Linked DNA regions of Homo sapiens: regions 1, 2, 3, 4 and 5 are each linked to region 6. Evidence: promoter capture Hi-C in human tissues and cell types (Jung and others, 2019). All regions are on one chromosome and are shown on one strand. The core of a region is centred on a gene start or on the middle of the fragment in contact, and the rest is flanking DNA. Distances in the headings are between cores, read along the strand shown. Region 1 overlaps LINC02631 (long intergenic non-protein coding RNA 2631). Region 2 overlaps NXPH2 (neurexophilin 2). Region 3 overlaps NXPH2 (neurexophilin 2). Region 4 overlaps SPOPL (speckle type BTB/POZ protein like). Region 5 overlaps SPOPL (speckle type BTB/POZ protein like). Region 6 holds the start of HNMT (histamine N-methyltransferase).

The links. Contacts are between HindIII fragments. The study calls those that stand out against the background at their distance.
Region 1: a contact is called between a fragment that was not itself captured here and the fragment with the promoter of HNMT in region 6, in 1 of the 25 tissues and cell types used here (dorsolateral prefrontal cortex).
Region 2: a fragment that was not itself captured here is called in contact with the fragment with the promoter of HNMT in region 6 in 2 of the 25 tissues and cell types used here (dorsolateral prefrontal cortex and lymphoblastoid cells).
Region 3: a fragment that was not itself captured here is called in contact with the fragment with the promoter of HNMT in region 6 in 1 of the 25 tissues and cell types used here (dorsolateral prefrontal cortex).
Region 4: a contact is called between a fragment that was not itself captured here and the fragment with the promoter of HNMT in region 6, in 2 of the 25 tissues and cell types used here (H1 embryonic stem cells and dorsolateral prefrontal cortex).
Region 5: a fragment that was not itself captured here is called in contact with the fragment with the promoter of HNMT in region 6 in 1 of the 25 tissues and cell types used here (hippocampus).

The regions. Positions count from the first base shown.
Region 1 is chr2:138,609,099-138,611,882 of GRCh38, forward strand. All of the region lies in intron 2 of LINC02631 (long intergenic non-protein coding RNA 2631), which reads left to right. Among named protein-coding and RNA genes, the nearest start is that of LINC02631, 8.9 kb to the left of the region's middle. The HindIII fragment of the contact is 6,437 bases long and covers 1-2,784 here.
Region 2 is chr2:138,704,198-138,706,924 of GRCh38, forward strand. The region is part of intron 1 of NXPH2 (neurexophilin 2); the gene reads right to left. Among named protein-coding and RNA genes, the nearest start is that of NXPH2, 75 kb to the right of the region's middle. The HindIII fragment of the contact is 3,859 bases long and covers 1-2,727 here.
Region 3 is chr2:138,732,119-138,735,128 of GRCh38, forward strand. The region is part of intron 1 of NXPH2 (neurexophilin 2); the gene reads right to left. Among named protein-coding and RNA genes, the nearest start is that of NXPH2, 47 kb to the right of the region's middle. The HindIII fragment of the contact is 6,849 bases long and covers 1-3,010 here.
Region 4 is chr2:138,569,564-138,572,306 of GRCh38, forward strand. It overlaps SPOPL (speckle type BTB/POZ protein like), which reads left to right. Exons shown (of 11, transcript NM_001001664.3): 11 at 1-2,743. Among named protein-coding and RNA genes, the nearest start is that of LINC02631, 31 kb to the right of the region's middle. The HindIII fragment of the contact is 5,359 bases long and covers 1-2,743 here.
Region 5 is chr2:138,506,877-138,509,641 of GRCh38, forward strand. The region is part of intron 1 of SPOPL (speckle type BTB/POZ protein like); the gene reads left to right. Among named protein-coding and RNA genes, the nearest start is that of SPOPL, 6.5 kb to the left of the region's middle. The HindIII fragment of the contact is 6,857 bases long and covers 1-2,765 here.
Region 6 is chr2:137,963,102-137,965,801 of GRCh38, forward strand. It overlaps HNMT (histamine N-methyltransferase), which reads left to right and starts at 1,372. Exons shown (of 6, transcript NM_006895.3): 1 at 1,372-1,527. The coding sequence starts at 1,391. The HindIII fragment of the contact is 6,466 bases long and covers 1-2,700 here.

The DNA.
Region 1 (2,784 bases), core at 42-2,541, 650 kb after region 6:
GCTCACCTCGGCCTCCCAAAGTGCTGGGATTATAGGCATGAGCCACCGTGACCGGCCTTAATGTGTTTTCGACCCTATTTTCAGAATCTGTCATGAAAGTCTTTTAGACTGTTTTGGGGAAGCATTGATATTTGGGGCAAGCTATCATTTGGAAATTACAACTTTAAGGAGAGATTTTTATAACCATAGCCATGGATGGGGCGGCGATGGTGGCCAGAATCTCAGAAATAGTGAGACAAGTCTCCAGGCTTTATTGCCAACTGATTCTACCTGCTATGTAAAACTGTGTAAGAACCTCCCAGGATTCCCATCTTGGTGTTGGTAGGAGAGTAAGGCAGACATAGACCAGGGTCAGGGGCCCATGAACACTTCCTTGCTTTTAGTGTTCTTTCCTTGATACCCTTAGTGACTAATGTGGGAAAGGCAGTGGTGTTCCTCAAACATCCCAGTTGCTTCCTCACGTTTTTCAGCACCTGCACAGGTAGGCAGGGTTACAAGACTGGTTCTGGCTCAGGGACTGTGACTGAAGAAGATGTGTGTCATTTCCAGGCCAACGCATAGACAAGCCACCGTGGCACCTGAACTGGACTTGTGTTGAAATGCACAGCTTGCATGGCTGAGTAACACTGGAGGGAAAGTGTTCTAGAGACTTATTTGGACCCACAGCAGAATTTGTATGAGCAGGAGACCTCTGTTATGTTAGGCTACCGAGCTTATTACTATAGCATAAGCTGGCCTATTCTGACCTATTCTGACCAATGATGTGTGGATACAGTAAAAGAAGGAAGACTTCTAAAGCTTTTGTCTGGTTGTATTGTTCTGCCTTTTCTTCTGTTGATTCTCTTTCCTTTGAGAGTGTAAGGAGTACATTGGGGTGTGTGATGTTATTATATATATATGATTTATATATATATATATATCATATATATATGTTATATATATATATATCATATATATATGTTATATATATATATATATATCATATATATATGTTTTCATCCTTCCTGACTCATAACTCCCATAGCCCTTGTTATAGGCTTTTCTTATAATGTTGGGGTGAATTGAGCCTCAGAAACAGGCCTCAGAAAATAGAAGTTTGCTCTCTGATCTTCTCCTGCCTTCGTTTCACCTGCTCCTTTGTTTTCCTCCAAAGCAGGACTCTAATCTTCCCCAACCTATCCAAAAAGAAATTTTATGACTTAGCTTGTCTGATTGTAGATCATAAGACCCCCATCTCAGAAGGAGCCCTGCCCCATACCTGGGAGGAAAGAATACTGCACAGAGAGGCCAAGAAAAATCTGAACAGACAGGCCTTGCTGGGTTCCTCACTCAGCCTATTAGTATTAAGTCATACCCTTTTTATCAGATCTCATGTCTACACTGTTGTCAATCATGCCTACCCAATGAAGTCTCCATAAAAGGCCCAAGAAGACAGGGAGCTTTCAGATAGCTGAACACATGGAGGTTCCTGGAGGATGGTGAGCCCCGGAGGGTGGTGAGCCTTGGAAGCTCCACAGCTCTCCCCATACCTTGCCCTGTGTAACTCTTCATCTGTATCCTTTCTAATATCCTTTCTGATAAACCAGTAAATGTGTTTCCTTGTGTTCTGTGAGCTGTTCTCACAAATTATTCAAATCTAAGGGGCTGGATGTCATGAGACCTCTGATTCATAGCCAGTCGATCAGAAGCACAAGAATAACAACCTGGGGTTAGCAACTGGTCTCAGAAGCTGGGCTGGGGTGGGGTAATCTTAGGGACTGAGCCCTCACTCTGTGGGATCTAACACTATTTCCAGGTAGGTAGTGTCAGAATTGAGTTGAATTAGATGGCACGCAGTGGTGTCTGCTGCAGAATTGATTGCTTGCTTTTTGGTGGGGAAAAACCCCCACATATTTGGTAGCAGAAGTCTTCTGTGATGATTGATTGTTACTGTGGTTGAGAGCAGAAGAAAAACAATTTTAGTTTTTCCACTCAAAGGGTGAAAAATAAGCCTAAAAATTTAGTTAATTTGGAGTTTGGTTGTGACAGTCTTTATTTCTGATATATTGAATCTAGGTCTAATAATAAGAGGAAGAACTCTCGCTAAAAGTGGACAGGCCAAATTCTTTCAAAGCCATTGAACTTCTACTATAGGATACCGCCTATAGAACATTCCTGGGCAGAATCTCCAGGCATCATGTGAGGTGGGAGGTGGTGTTGGAAGAAGGCTTCTTACGCTTCAAATTACATCCCACCATTGCTCAAGAAGACATATTTGTTGGACTAATAATATTTTGTCTCTGTTAACATTCAACACTTAAATGAGTACTTAGGAACATATTGAAGATGAAAAAATGAAATACCCTCTTGAGGCCCTAAAGGAGTTCACAGGGTAATGCTTTTTTATTTTTTTATTTTTAAAATTATTTTATTTTTTGTCTCACTTCTATCACCCAGGCTGGAGTGCAATGGCGTGATCTTGGCTCACTGCAGCCTAAACTTCCCAAGCTCAGGTGATCCTCCCACATCAGCCTCCAAAATAGCTGGGACTATAGGAGCATGACACCACGCCTGCTGAATTTTTTTTATTTATTATTTTTAGTAGAAGTGAGATTTTGCCATGTTGCCTGGATTGGTTTCGAACTCTTGGGCTCATGATTGGCCCTCCTCAGCCTCCCAAAGGGCCAAGATTACAGGCATGAGCTGCCATGCCCATCTGGTAATGCTTATAATCACAGCAAGACATTAAAACCAGTGTCAGTCATGAATAAATAGGTCAGGGTTAGATTTCTAGGCTGTACAAGA
Region 2 (2,727 bases), core at 169-2,668, 740 kb after region 6:
TGACTAAAATGTGTCCTCAGGCTATTAAAGTATAAAATACTAGTAGATATACCATCTTGAAACAAGTTCTATGGAAGGTAATGACTGACAGATATAACCCAGGCTCTGTAAGCCAGGGGCTGGTCACTCCAGCTTTATGTTAGAATCACTGCCCCTTAAAGAAGTACAGTCTACAAACTATCAGCAGTCTAAGATAGATACTTCTGTGTTTGGAAACTTTTATGGCAAGTTGATATTAGAACATTATTTAATCATTTGATTGTGCATGTTATAAAAGCATCAGATTGGCACCTAAACAACAGCTGGTTATTTATACAGATAGTTTGAGAAACACAGTCCTAGAAAGCTTATGCCATCTCAGACCAATTAAATCAGAAGGAGGGGAACTGGGAGCCTGCACATCTTCAAGGTATTTAGCTCCTTTAGAAGATTCTACTGTAGTGATATTTTAAGGGTTTATTTTTTGTTGCTTTTAGAGACAGGGTCTTGCTCTCTCAGCAAGTCTGCAGTGCAGTGGCACAATCATGTCTTAATTGTGCAGCCTGAACTCCTCGGCTCAAGTGATCCTCTCACCTTAGCCTCTTAGGTAGCTGGGACTACATGTGTGCACCACCACGCCCAGCTAATTTTTTTTTTTTTTTTTTGAGATGGAGTTTCATTCTTGTCACTCAGGCTGGAGTGCAATGGCACAATCTTGGCTCACTGCAACCTCTGCCTCCTGGGTTCAAGCGATTCTCCTGCCTCAACTTCCCAAGTGGCTGAGATTACAGGTGTCCGCCACTATGCCTGGCTAATTTTTGAATGTTTTTAGTAGAGACAGGGTTTCACCATGTTGGCCAGGCTGGTCTCAAACTCCTGACCTCAGGTGATCTGCCTGCCTCGGCCTCCCAAAGTGTTGGGATAACAGGCGTGAGCCACCACACTTGGTCTTTTAAAAAAATTTTTTTGTAGAGATGGAGTCTCGATACGTTGCTCAGGCTGGTCTCCAACTCCTGGCCTCAAGCAATCTTCCCATCATGGCCTCTCAAAGTGTTGAGATTACAGGCATCAGCCACCATGCCTGGCCAATAATATTATTAAAAATAAACATTAAGATCCTTTTTTTCCTTCTTGATTTGATATATGGAATTCTCATATTAAATATACGTATATTTTAAGTCATGTCTGAGGCATTTTGAGACAATAAATAATCATTCTTTTAAAAAAGAAAGCTTTTTATAGTAAAGATGAAACAATAACATGTAGTACTATGCTTATTTTGGCAGTCTAAAGACCCAGAGTGTCTTCTGTCTAATCCCTCTTAGTAGATTTTACTCAGTAACTGATTTTGGTGCTGCCATTACAATTTGAGGGAAGTTCCCATTATCTAAATGAATTCCCTGAATTTATTCTACACTATCACTGCCAAGTTGGTCATCCTGCCTGTCTTTGAACGTGGTGTGACAGGGAGCTAACTATCTCCCAAGGGAACCTATTTCATCTTTAAATTCTCTGTTAAAATTCTTGTTTCTACTAAGCTGAAATCTGTCTGCCTAGAACTTTATTCAGTGGTCCTTGTTCTCTCTCTCTTTCTAGAGTCTTACAGAACAAGCTCAGTGATTCTTCATAAAATAAACATTCATATAGCTGAGGATGTTTGTATTACTGAGTAAGCCCCTCTTCGGACCAAATGCCTCCACTTTTTAATCAAAAACCATTCTTCAATTCTCATAACCATCCTGGTGACTTCACTCTGATTGTGATCCTGTTCCTTCATATTCCCCATAAAAATGTAATATGATCAATGAATTCCAGAAACATTTATTAAATCCTTACAATGTGAGAAGGATGCAAAGTTGAAAACCAGGATTTCTGCTCTGTATGTGTTTACAGTTTTATGTATCAGAGTGTTTTAAGGGAAAACAATCTATGCCTGTGGTCTGACCATTACAGAACATACTATGTCTATTAATAAAAAGATAACAAATATTTACTAAGAATTTTCTCTGTGCCTGTTATCTCATTTAGACCTCACAACAACCCTGAGAGGCAGGTATTATTCTACTATCCTTATTTTACAGCTGAGGGAACTGATGCTTAAGGAATTAAGTTGGCAGTGTAAGCAAGAAAGTAGCAGAGCTGCTGTAGTCTATATTAAATGACATGCTCTAGAAAAGTTAAGAAGTTGTTTAAGGATGTTAACCAATTGGCCAGATTAACCAATGTTCTCCATTGGATCTTGCTGATGCCCAAGTATCCCGAATGCACACAGCTGGTGGGCTGTTCTCTAGGATCTATCCAATTATTTTGAATTTTATGTGAGACAGCTGTTTGTCCCCATCCTGTTTATGCCAGTTATAGTTGTCATTTTAATTACGTAACTTAATAAAGTATTTATTAGATAGGCTGATGAATATGAATGAGAAAAAAGTTGTTCTTTATATGAAAATTAAGGCCAGGTGTCGTGGTTCACGCCTGTAATCCCAGCACTTTTGGAGGCCAAAGCGGGAAGATTGCTTGAAGTCAGGAGTTTGAGAACAGCCTGGGCAACATAGAAAGACTTCATTTTTTTTTTAAGTAGGCAGGTGTGGTAGTGTGTACCTGAAGTCCCACCTACTCAGGAGGCTGAGGCTGGAAGATGACTTGAGCCCAGGTGGATGAGGCTATAGTGAGCTATGATTGCACCATTGCATTCCAGCCTGGGTAACACCGTGAGACCCTGTCTTTAAAATAAACTAAAATAAAGAA
Region 3 (3,010 bases), core at 329-2,828, 770 kb after region 6:
AAATCCACAGTATGTCAAGTTGAAAATGGGAAACTATGGACAACATTGCTTTGCAAGTTTGGTGATCTCATACACAATGTGTCAAAAGGAGGGCTCTGTGATTAAGGATGTAATCATCTTGGGCAATCAAAGATGTTTTTTGAATCCAGTAGAGAAAACTGGCCTATGGAAAGTCATAGAGAAGAGGAGAAAGTCGAGAAGCTCTCCTGGTAACTGGTCACACATCCAGCACTGGAAGAGTAGGAGATGCATCTGGGTCTTTTAAAAGGCACCAGCATGGTTAGGTAAGGAGGACAAGTAGAAACACTGATGTGTGAGATTGCGAAGGAGGGGATTCTTTTCAGGAGATGATCTCCTCTGAAATCTGTCAATGTCAGCCTTGGGCTGTGCACTTCCTTCCAAGTAAGGTGAGATTTCAGGCTCTCTCAGGCATGTTGGCTGAGGCTTCATTCCTGTGCCTAAAAGCTCTGCTGTGCTGGACCTGCTCTTCTCCTGACTTGTCACCTTGGCTTTACAAGACACGCTAAGGTTTTTTTTCTTCTTCTCCTTCTTTGTCTAGGGTCTTTTAAATGTTCCTCCTGCCAATATTCTGATTCTATTCTGTGGCTTTGACCTGTGATTCTGAAGTCCTAATAACTGGCTCTCGGTAATTCTTAACACTGTACCTCTTCCTGGTTCCATTCCTTATTCTTCCTATTCCACTTTTAGAGGTCTGCTCACCAGTGCTGATTAAGCACATTATGGCACATTTGACTTAAAGCCAAAACTTCTAGATTAAAAGAAAAAATTCAGAGGCAAATCACAAATATTTGGTATTCCATAAAATAAACTTCTAAGCAATTGAATATATTTCCCTCATTTTCATGTAGCTGCTGTGACTTCTTCCTCTTAAATGATCTCTTGTTCTGTTTGACATGCACAAATCCTTCAAATGCCTTATATAGCTCTTTGTTTCTGAACACTTGAGAAAAGTGAACTTACTGAAGCAATTTGTGTTGTATGGTTTTTCTTGTACATCCATCCCATATCTACACAGTCTATAATGAAATGACCTGAAGGAGAAATTCCCTTGAAGCTGTTCTTTCTATTGAATAAAAAGTTTCTGAGATCCCTTAGTATGAATGGTTTAGTGATAAGTGTATTTAAAGAAATCAAGATAAACAAAAGGCCACTTTGTTAACTGAGAGTAACTCAGAAAGAACGGATGCGAAGTTACACATATTGAGAAAAACATCTGAATTTAAACAGGGGCTGAATGAAGATCTGGATATTTTATTTCTGTGTAAACCTAGAGGAAAGCCATTAACCAAGTCTTCAAGTGACTCAAAACTGGGAAAGATAGTTAATATTTCAGGTAACATAACAAAGAGCCAAAAGGATCTTGAAAGGCAAGAAGAAAAGAGTTTAAATGAATGGAGAGACATGTGAAGTCTTGCACTTAAACTTAGAGAAAAATTCTTCAGAAATTGTCATTTTACGTGAAAATATATCTGTATGTTGAATTGCCCTCTAGCTACCATTATTAATAACAAGGGATATGACATCTAAGAAAGCTCTCACAATGTTCGGCTGCATTATAAGTACAGACTATAGGTGACTATCAAAGGAGGCTACTGTACCCATGGGGCTCAGACTCCATCCTGATATTCAGACTTGATTCTAAAAATGACATTGAGTAATACAATTATTTCCTGAAGACGCTGACCAGCATCTGCAAGTGTCCTGAAAACAAAGTCAGGGATAGTGGAAAGATTTGCAACTACATCAGGAAAAGAAAAGACGTAGGGGAAAATGTGAATGTTCATTGTAAATACTTGAAGAAACGTCAAGCAAAAGAAGAATGAGGGTGAGCATGGTGGCTCACACCTGTAATCCCAGCACTTTGGGAGGCCAAGGCAGGTGGATCACCTGATGTCAGTAGTTCAAGACCTGTCTGGCCAATATGGTGAAAGCCCATCTCTACTAAAAATGCAAAAATTAGCCAGGCATCATGTTGGGTGCCTGTAATCACAGCTACTCAGGAGGTTGAGGCAGGAGAATTGTTTGAACCTGGTAGGAGGAGGTTGCAGTGAGTCAAGATCCCACCACTGCATTCCAGCCTGGGTGATAGAAGAAGACTCTGTCACAAAAAAGAAGAATGAGATATTCGAGGTGGCTGTAAAGGGCAGGTCTAGAATTCACAGAAGTCACTGAGAAGCAGGATTTACATTGGAGATATTCAATTCAATGAGTCTGACTATCTGTCATATTCTGAACATTGGGGATACAAAGATAAATAAAGCTGAATTTCTGTTGTCTCATGCATAATTTAGAGAGAAAGGCAATGAGGTAAACACAGTAACTATTCAATGTGACAGGTGGTAGAAAGGAAGAAATGGTCAAGCCAGGGAAAGCTTTAAGGAGAAGGGAGTACTTGAGCTGAATTTTAAAAAAGGAATACCTCCTTGTAGAAGGATGGAATGTGAAATAGAGAGGGTGATCCTGAAGATGGGAATGCCAGCTATAAAGGTGACAGCAATAAGCCAGAGGGAGACCACAGTAGTGATGAGAGATTTTGAAGAGGCAGAACAAACAAGACTTGGTGGCTGATGGGGTATGGAAAATGGGGTGAAGAAAGTATGAAACCAGAATGATTCCCAAGATTTGTGCTTTTGTGCTCAGATGGCTGATAGAACCATTTGCAAAGAGATGCAATATGGTGAGCATGGATAAGAGGAGAGGAGAGAGAATTCAGTGTAGGGTAAACTGAGCTCACGTGGCTCAGAAACATCTTGATAAAGATGTAGAATGAGGAGATACAAATCAGAAAACTGGTCAAGGGCCAGGGATGTAGATTTAGGGGCCATCAGTCTATAAGTAGTAATTAAAATGTTAATCTGGGGTGTGACCAAACAGGAAGAAGGTGAAGTCAGTAGTTGAGATTAGGCAGAAAGGCAGTTATATTGGGTAATAAGCATAGATAGAAATGGCGCTGTTCTGGCAAGTCCATGACAATGGATGCCCCTGAACT
Region 4 (2,743 bases), core at 98-2,597, 610 kb after region 6:
AAATATGGGAGAACCCTCTTACCTTCAAGGTAAGTTATGGCAATACACTGCTTCAATTCTAATTTATTTTTCATTTCAGGGGGCAAATATGCAATGAGTTGGCCTAGATTTTTAGTGACATTTATGATGTTTGTCTTGTATGTTAACTGTCCAACAAACTGTGGGTTTATTCTAAGTTTACAATTATTGAGAACTGATTGAGGTTAAGATTTCATGAAGAAAGCATGTATTGTGTGGAAGTAATTTTTTTTTAATTTATACTGACCTACATTTATACGAAGAATTCTGTACATGTTAAAAGTAAGGATGACCAAATGCAAATTTAATGAGTGGGCCAATTAAGAAAGATACATATGCACTTTTACTGTGTAACTTTTGTATGCTGAATGGTACATATATTTTTTTGCTTTTGAGGGAATTAATAAGGTATAATTAATTGTGTCTTAACTTTTCAAAGAAATTTTTAGATGGAGGCAACTGGGATGTTTGTGATAATAGATGAGAAAGACATCCTTGATTGTAGTTAAATTGGTTTGGATTACAGATATTCATTATTGAATTGACTCCTATTTTCTCACACTTTGGAAAAGACACCTGAACAATAAATGAATCCTGGATAGTCTACTCTCCTTCAAACAATTAACTGATACTTGCCTTTGGGAGATGCATACAAAAGGAGAGAACCCTTAGACTATGTCAGGTCACACTAGGAACCTCCCCTCACTCCCCGTTTTTCTTCATTGTGTTTCAGTTACTGTACTAACATTGTGGATGATACTGAAATTCTGCATAATGTGAACAGGATAAACTATTTATAAACTGCTTTTCATGGGCCAGTTCTTTATTATAAATGAATTTTAGCTTTAAATGCATATACACGTTCAGTGTTTGATAGTTGTGTTCTTAAGGGAGGTTTGTTCTGGTGCATTGTCCTGGAGAAGCAGAAGCAGTCAGTGTTGGGGTACCACATCTGACTTACTGTGGTGGTGACCAGTGTGCTTCTTAAGGGCAAGATTTATATTTGACCACAAGGGAAAAAGTGTGTCACTGGAAAAAAACGCATATACCTATGTTTGCAAACATAACTATTCTTCAGATTAAAATTTGTATAATTTGTTTATTTAATGTTTGAATTCAGGACAAAAGAAAAAATGAAGCTTGAGGTGTTTTCAAATAGACCTTATTTTTGCTATCTCTTTGTTAGGTGTTAACTGAAGCAATTCGAATATGTCCAGATTCATTTGGATTCATATTTACATTGAAAAAACTCAACTAAGCATTTGTTATCCACAACAACCTAGAGTTTAAAAAGATCGTATTTTCACCTGTCTTCATTACTTTCTATGTAGTTTCATTCTTTGTCGTGGTAACTTAAATTTGAAATTGGAAGAATCTCTTGGGATAGAAGAAAGATTCTTACCTGGTGATGGAACTTCATACTTCATCCTGTGTAAGAGTATTATGGGAAGTAGAAATTCACTTCCTTAAATCCATCGTAAGATTGAGCCTCAAGTTTGCAATATACAATTTTAAAAATACACATACATACATACATATGTATACATTTCCAGTTTTAAGATTTTGCGAGGGTCTTATAAGAAAACAAAAATTCCCTCAGGCTATAGAATTATGTTGTCATATATCAGAAAAGTACTGATGTATCCATTTATATCCAATGCGCACCACACCGGCACATTGTGATTTAATTCACCGCTTGAATCTATATTTCTAACCACAGTGACTTCAGTAAAAATACCGTATAATGAACATTTCAGCTTCTTCTTACTTACTCGAGAGTTTATTGCAAATCTTAAGGATTTTATTATAAAGATTTTTTTTTTAGTTTGGTAGCACATTTTGTACCAAAAATGTCAAACACTGTGCTGTAAGAATATCCATGTTTGTAGAAATGTCCACTTTTCAGATAATATAATGCCTACCATTATACTAACAGAATCATATGGTAGTTGATTTATTTTTTTATTTATTATGTATATTTTTGGTATTGTGGGTTCTTGAGGCAATGATAAAAACACTTAATGTATTCTGACATGAGTGCTCTAATAGCCTCCTTCTCCTCATTTTTAAACTGCATACATTACTTTCAAAATAGGTATAGATACTCTGTCCCGCCTTTTGAGCTATTAGCCTGTTCCTGTTTCCCTTTGTCACCTAAGCAAGGCTTTTTCTGAGAAGGTAGTGAATGGTTTCAAATGTTGCATACTATAAGAATAATCATTGGGTAACTGTTGTTTAGACCAACACTTAGAAATACTATATTTGTGCCTTTTCATTTTTAATTTTAATGTGTGTTGATATTTGGAGCACAAATAATGAAGGTGCCATAATATGGCTTGCCAATGTTACCTCCTTGAATAGTCATGTGTCATTGTCTTGAATTGGTAATTGGAGAACCTTGCATGAAATATGTGATCGTGTGTGTGTGTGTGTATGCGCGTGTGTGTCTGTGTGTTTGTGTACATACCTGTATTTGCTTGGGGCTTGTGTGTGGTATGTTACAAAGAGTGAATTTCTGGAAATAGAAATCAGTTAAATGTTGAAAGTTCAGGTTAGCAGAAATATTTCATTTAAATATGCTTTACTTTGGAGGACAATTGATTAACAGAGGAAATGATAATTTTCAAAAATGTGATCAATTTACTGCATGATGAAATGTGAAAACAGTGCCTTTTTAGGACATCAATTATAATAAAATTGTTTTAAAATATTAACAAAGATCTCA
Region 5 (2,765 bases), core at 123-2,622, 540 kb after region 6:
TAAGGGGTCTTATGAGTAAGCCCTATGAATCTTTCACATTTGAACTTTGGTAGAAAGAAATGGAACAAAAGAGGCTGAGAAGGAAGAAGCTAGAGGTTGGAAGAAAATTTTGTTGGTATCACTGAAGCCAAGGCAATAGACTGAAAAAGAAGGGAGTGGCCAGTTGAATATTTTGAATGCAACTGGGAAATTAAGTGGCAAACTAAAGAGCATACGCTGAATTTAGCAACATGAAGAAAATTTTATATTTCTGGTTGTCAATACACCCATAAACTGTTTGATGATGAATTTTGTATTAATCTGCCGAAGTTACAATCCTAAATTAAAATAAAATATTAAATCTATAATATGAACCATATCTGTCTTCCTGAGTTCAGACGTGTTTTTAGTATCATCTGGCTGTTCTATAAGTATCTAAAACTTTTCACAGCTTATTCATTCATAGTATGTATTTTTTAAATACTCACTATTTATCAGACACTGAATGCTAGACTTCTAGGTATGGGATTAGAATTCAGAGACTAGGGACCATGAACGATTAAACAAATATTTGTTTTTCTTGTGTGATTAGTGCTGTCGTGGCAGTTTATTCAGGTTGCCTTGGAAGCACAGAGCAGGGGCATCAGGGGAGGCTTTCAAGGAAAATGACCCTTGAGCAGAGTGTTTCTGAAAGTCAAGTTACACAGGTGGAGAAGACGAGTTAAACATAGGTGGCAGAGGAGTTTAAAGAAATGATACTCCAAGTAATTTGAAAGCCTGCAAAGGCAGAAATTGGGGCTAGAGTACACGGGTAGTAGGTTGGAGAGGTTGGCCATGCCATTTAAAGGTTTCTCACTTGAACTTGTATCTTTTTTGGATTTTTTTTATTAATATCCTTACCACCCATATAGTCACTAAATGTGGAGGTATCTTTTTAATATCTTTAAGAATTAAATATTTCTTTGTTTTAGTATTTATTGCCCAAGGTAGTGTTTTATTTTTGCTAGTTAGCTTTACATTATATGTATTAAATCTATACTTACAGGTTCATTCAATAACTGATAGCATAAATATTTTAGTTATATTCCAGTGACTTATTATGGAAGAAATTTTATACATGTAACTTTTTCTCTCAATTTTAGGGAGTTTAAAAGGAAAGCCTTGCTAAGGATTGGTGAAGATGTAGTACTAAACCTTGGGTATATGGTCAATGATGGTGTTTCTGGGCTCAGTAGAATGACAGCCATCCCCTGATAGCTTAAATGTTATTTTAGGTGGTTGTATTACATCAAAAAGTCTACAAATCCCTGGACTTTTCTCTTGGACCATGGGTAGAATACAATTTATCTATAGACATGGATAAACTTTTTGAAGAATACTGTAGTTGGCAAAACCTTAATTGGCAAGGGCAGGGTCTCATAGAAAATAATGGGATAGAAAGGAAAATTATGTTAAAATTAATTTTATTCTTTCTTTATTTATTTTCTATTTTTTTGAGACAGAGTCTTGCCCTTTTGCCCAGGCTGGAGTGCAGTGACGTGATCTCAGCTCATTGCAACCTCTGTCTCCTGGTTCAAACAATTCTCCTGCCTCAGCCTCCTGAGTAGCTGGGACTACAGGCACAGCCACCATGCCCAGCTAACTTTTGTATTTTTAGTAGAGATGGGGTTTCACCATGTTGGCCAGGCTGGTCTTGAACTCCTGACCTCAAGTAATCCTCCCACCTCAGCCTCCCAAAGTGCTGGGATTATAGGCTGAGCCACTGGGTCTGGCCAAAGTGAATTTTAAAAACACAGTAAATGAAAAGTTCTAGAAGACATCCAGTTTATTTTATTTTTTGGCAGAGACGGGTCTCACTGTCTTTCCCAGGCTTGTCTCAAACTCCTGGCCTCAAGGGAATTAAGAAAATTATAACTTTAAAAATTTATTTTTACTAGTTCATACTGGCTTTAAAATCTTTTGCTCTTGCCTTCTCCTTGGTTTTAAGTTTTGTTATGTCTTATATAACAACTGTGTGCTTTTCATGTATTTATTATGGCTCTTACAGGTACCCTTTTAGAGGCGTTTTATCTTTATGTTGAACATAACTATAGCTCCTGTTTGGTATTCTTTATACCTGCTTATATGTTCTAAAAGAGGTCAGGATAATTATTAGCATTATATTCTGAATTGTGTAATACATGAGACTAAACTTTACATAGGTAAAAGCTAGCAGATTAAAATGATTTTTTTATTCTCAAGTATGAAATTTTTGCACCTCAAACCATGGTTGGGACAGGTTAGATAGGAGATACGTATATGTATATATACCTAAAGTGAAGGTATGATGAAGATACTCATCTCTGCAATACGAATATATTTAGAAAATACTCCCCTTCCCCCAACACACACACTTCTTTGGAGTTGGTGTATTTGCTTTCATCCTATAGTAGATAAATAAGTAAAAATATTTAGGGTTAACAATTAAAAACAAAGAGGTGTTTTTATTTTCTGCAGAACTGAAGATTGATAGTATATCTAAAAAGTAGTATGCTTTTGAAATATTATTTTATAGGTATGAGCTGAGATTAAATTCAAAAAACAAAAATAACAAAATATAATGTTATATTTATTGACAAAGAAAATACCATTGTTTCCTGTTTGGGTATGTTTTCTGAAGCAAATTTAACAATTTTTTTCTTGTGTAAAATAGATTTGTATCTCCCCTCCTCGAACCCCCCAGTTAGGTGATTTTTTAAAAAAATAGATTTTATGTTTTTGAAGCTGTTTTAGGTTCACTGAAGAAG
Region 6 (2,700 bases), core at 122-2,621:
ATAGTGAGAACAAAACATACTTATAAAAGGGAGTTGGGGGCTGGGAATGGTGGCTCACGCCTGTAATCCCAGCACTTTGGGAGGCCGAGGCGGGTGGATCACTTGAGATCAGGAGTTCGAGATCAGCCTGGCCAACATGGTGAAACCCTGTCTCTACTAAAAGTACAAAAATTAGCCAGGCGTGGTGGCGGGTGCCTGTAATCCCAGTTATTCGGGAGGCTAAGACAGGAGAATCACTTGAGTCCAGGAAGCGGAGGTTGCAGTGAGTGGAGATCGCACCATTGCACTCCAGGCTGGGCGACAGAGCGATACTCTGTCTCAAAAAAAAAAAGAGAGTTGGGAAGTGTTTTGAATGCTTAGAGGGCAGCTTGGGAACTCAATTAGAAGAAGGGACGGTTTAAGCAGACATATTTCTAAGAGACTTATATGAGTTAACTCATTTGATCCTCAGCACTCCTCCATGAGTTGGATGCTATTATTAACAACCCAATATTAGATAAAGGATGACCTTCTTAAAGACCTCTTCCCAGGAAAAAGACTGTGTGTGGGTACTCTGAAGCTTTGGCTCTTCTGGTGGGGACACCACTGGGTTTCCAAAGGCTCATCCAGCCAAGCGAAGTATCTATGACCTCGTCGTGTTCAGCGCGCTTAGGGAAGGATTCTATGGACTGCACTTTTACCCTGGTGTCCTGCATTCTTGCTCCAAGACTTCTCTTACCACTCTCATTCCCCTAAATGCAGCTTCTGACACCTTCTAGCTACGAGTTCTTGGGCTCCTCCTTCGTGACTTCCTTTTAAGATAATTTCTGAGTTACAACAAATCAGCATTTGAAGAAATGCAGCAGATAAGTTGAAAATTCAAGTGCTGAGGAATGTAAAGGCCCAAAACAATCCCGTAGAAAGCACAGAGGCAGATGACAGTCTTCCGTTAAAGATTTCACTGCTGTAGATTTCTGAGAGTGCTGTGTAGCTGTCCTCTTTATCCTGGTGTTTGCCACTTCGAACAGTCACTTTCCCACTTGGAACTTACTTGTGGCTTTGCTGACAAAACAGGAAGTGATTTGAATACAGTTTGTTTTTATGACCTTTCAACCTCAGGAATTTGAAAAGTTTTAGCAGTGGATTTACAGCCTTGCTTAATACTTCTATTTCTTACAAAACAACCGTATAGGGGTTAAAGTATCAGTGCAAAGTCCCGTTCAAATATTGACTCAGTAATGAGCTCTACAAGCCAGCCTTTGTGGCATGTTAAATTCAAAACAAGCTTAGCATTTTTTTTTTTTTTTTTGGATAGAAACTGGTGGGGGTGGGGAAAGAAAGAGGGAACTGGGAAGAGAAGGAGGGGAACTTAAACCTTGCTTCCTGCTCTGTCTTTCTCAGAAAACCAAATATGGCATCTTCCATGAGGAGCTTGTTTTCTGACCACGGGAAATATGTTGAATCTTTCCGGAGGTTTCTCAACCATTCCACGGAACACCAGTGCATGCAGGAATTCATGGACAAGAAGCTGCCAGGCATAATAGGAAGGTAACAAAAGGGACGTTGTTGTCAAAGGGACAAGCCTCAGACTGGCTGTGCGTCAGTGATAGATGGGTCTCGCTCAGCCTCGCAGGCTGGGCACAGGGATAAGGGCGAATTACTGATAGCAGCTCCCCGTCGTCCCCTCCTCGCTGCCCTGCCCTGCCTTTCTCCTGCAGTGCTTTGGTTCCACGTTTGCTTTGAACACTCAAAGGCTCCCATTTGTGTTGTATTTCCAGCTGCATAGAGATAAGCGTTAACCATTTGAAGGCACAAATCCATGTTCATTTGGGAAAAGATAAGATGCTAATCTTCGAACTCAGATTTTTCAGCCCTCCTCCAAATTTTACATCCCAAAAAAGTCCCAAAGGGAGTCTGGTATGCTTTTCATTAGAATCAAATATAAATAATTGCCAAAGTACGATTTGCCCTGAGGATTGAGTGCCTCAGTTCTCATAATATCCATTTAAATTAATTTTCCTTATCCATTGTTATAGTTATCACTCTCTTCCTCAAAATTGTCTTTTTCTTTCAGCTTAATATTAGCAATGTGTTCCTTAAAAAAAGAACCATTTTCCCATTATCAGTGAAACTCACTGGTTCCTATCCTTCTTGCAGAGTTCTTTTTTTTGGGTGATTAATGTGTTCAATTTGTGCCAGAGCTGATAAGCATTATGAGAGTAACAGATTCCACATGCTAAAGATAATCAAATCACCTATCTGGGGGTGATTTGCTGTAACTCATTCTACTTCAGGAAATAATAATGGAAAACTGGGAAGAAATGACTATGGATCCAATTTGCAAACAGCAAAGGAAAGTGGTATTTTATCTTTTGCTGAATTTCTCTATTGCAGGCCTGAAATTCTTTCACCAGGGCAGTACCTATGTCTGACCAGAGCAGGCATTATTAGATGTACATAAAATTTTATTTCCTTTTCTATTTAACATGATTCAGATTTTAAATGTTAGCTTTCAAAAAATAGGATATTATATATTAAAAATTAATATGTAATAGGATAAGGATGCAAACATCAAAGCAAATAGCAAATATAGAGAACTTCTTACCTAGGAACTAATTATAGTTAACCTCTTTGGGTTTCTTTGCTCATTTCTAAAGTTAAAGGTAATGAGTTAATTTCTCAATTCTTTTTCAGTACTAAAAGTATTTGCTCATGTCTGTA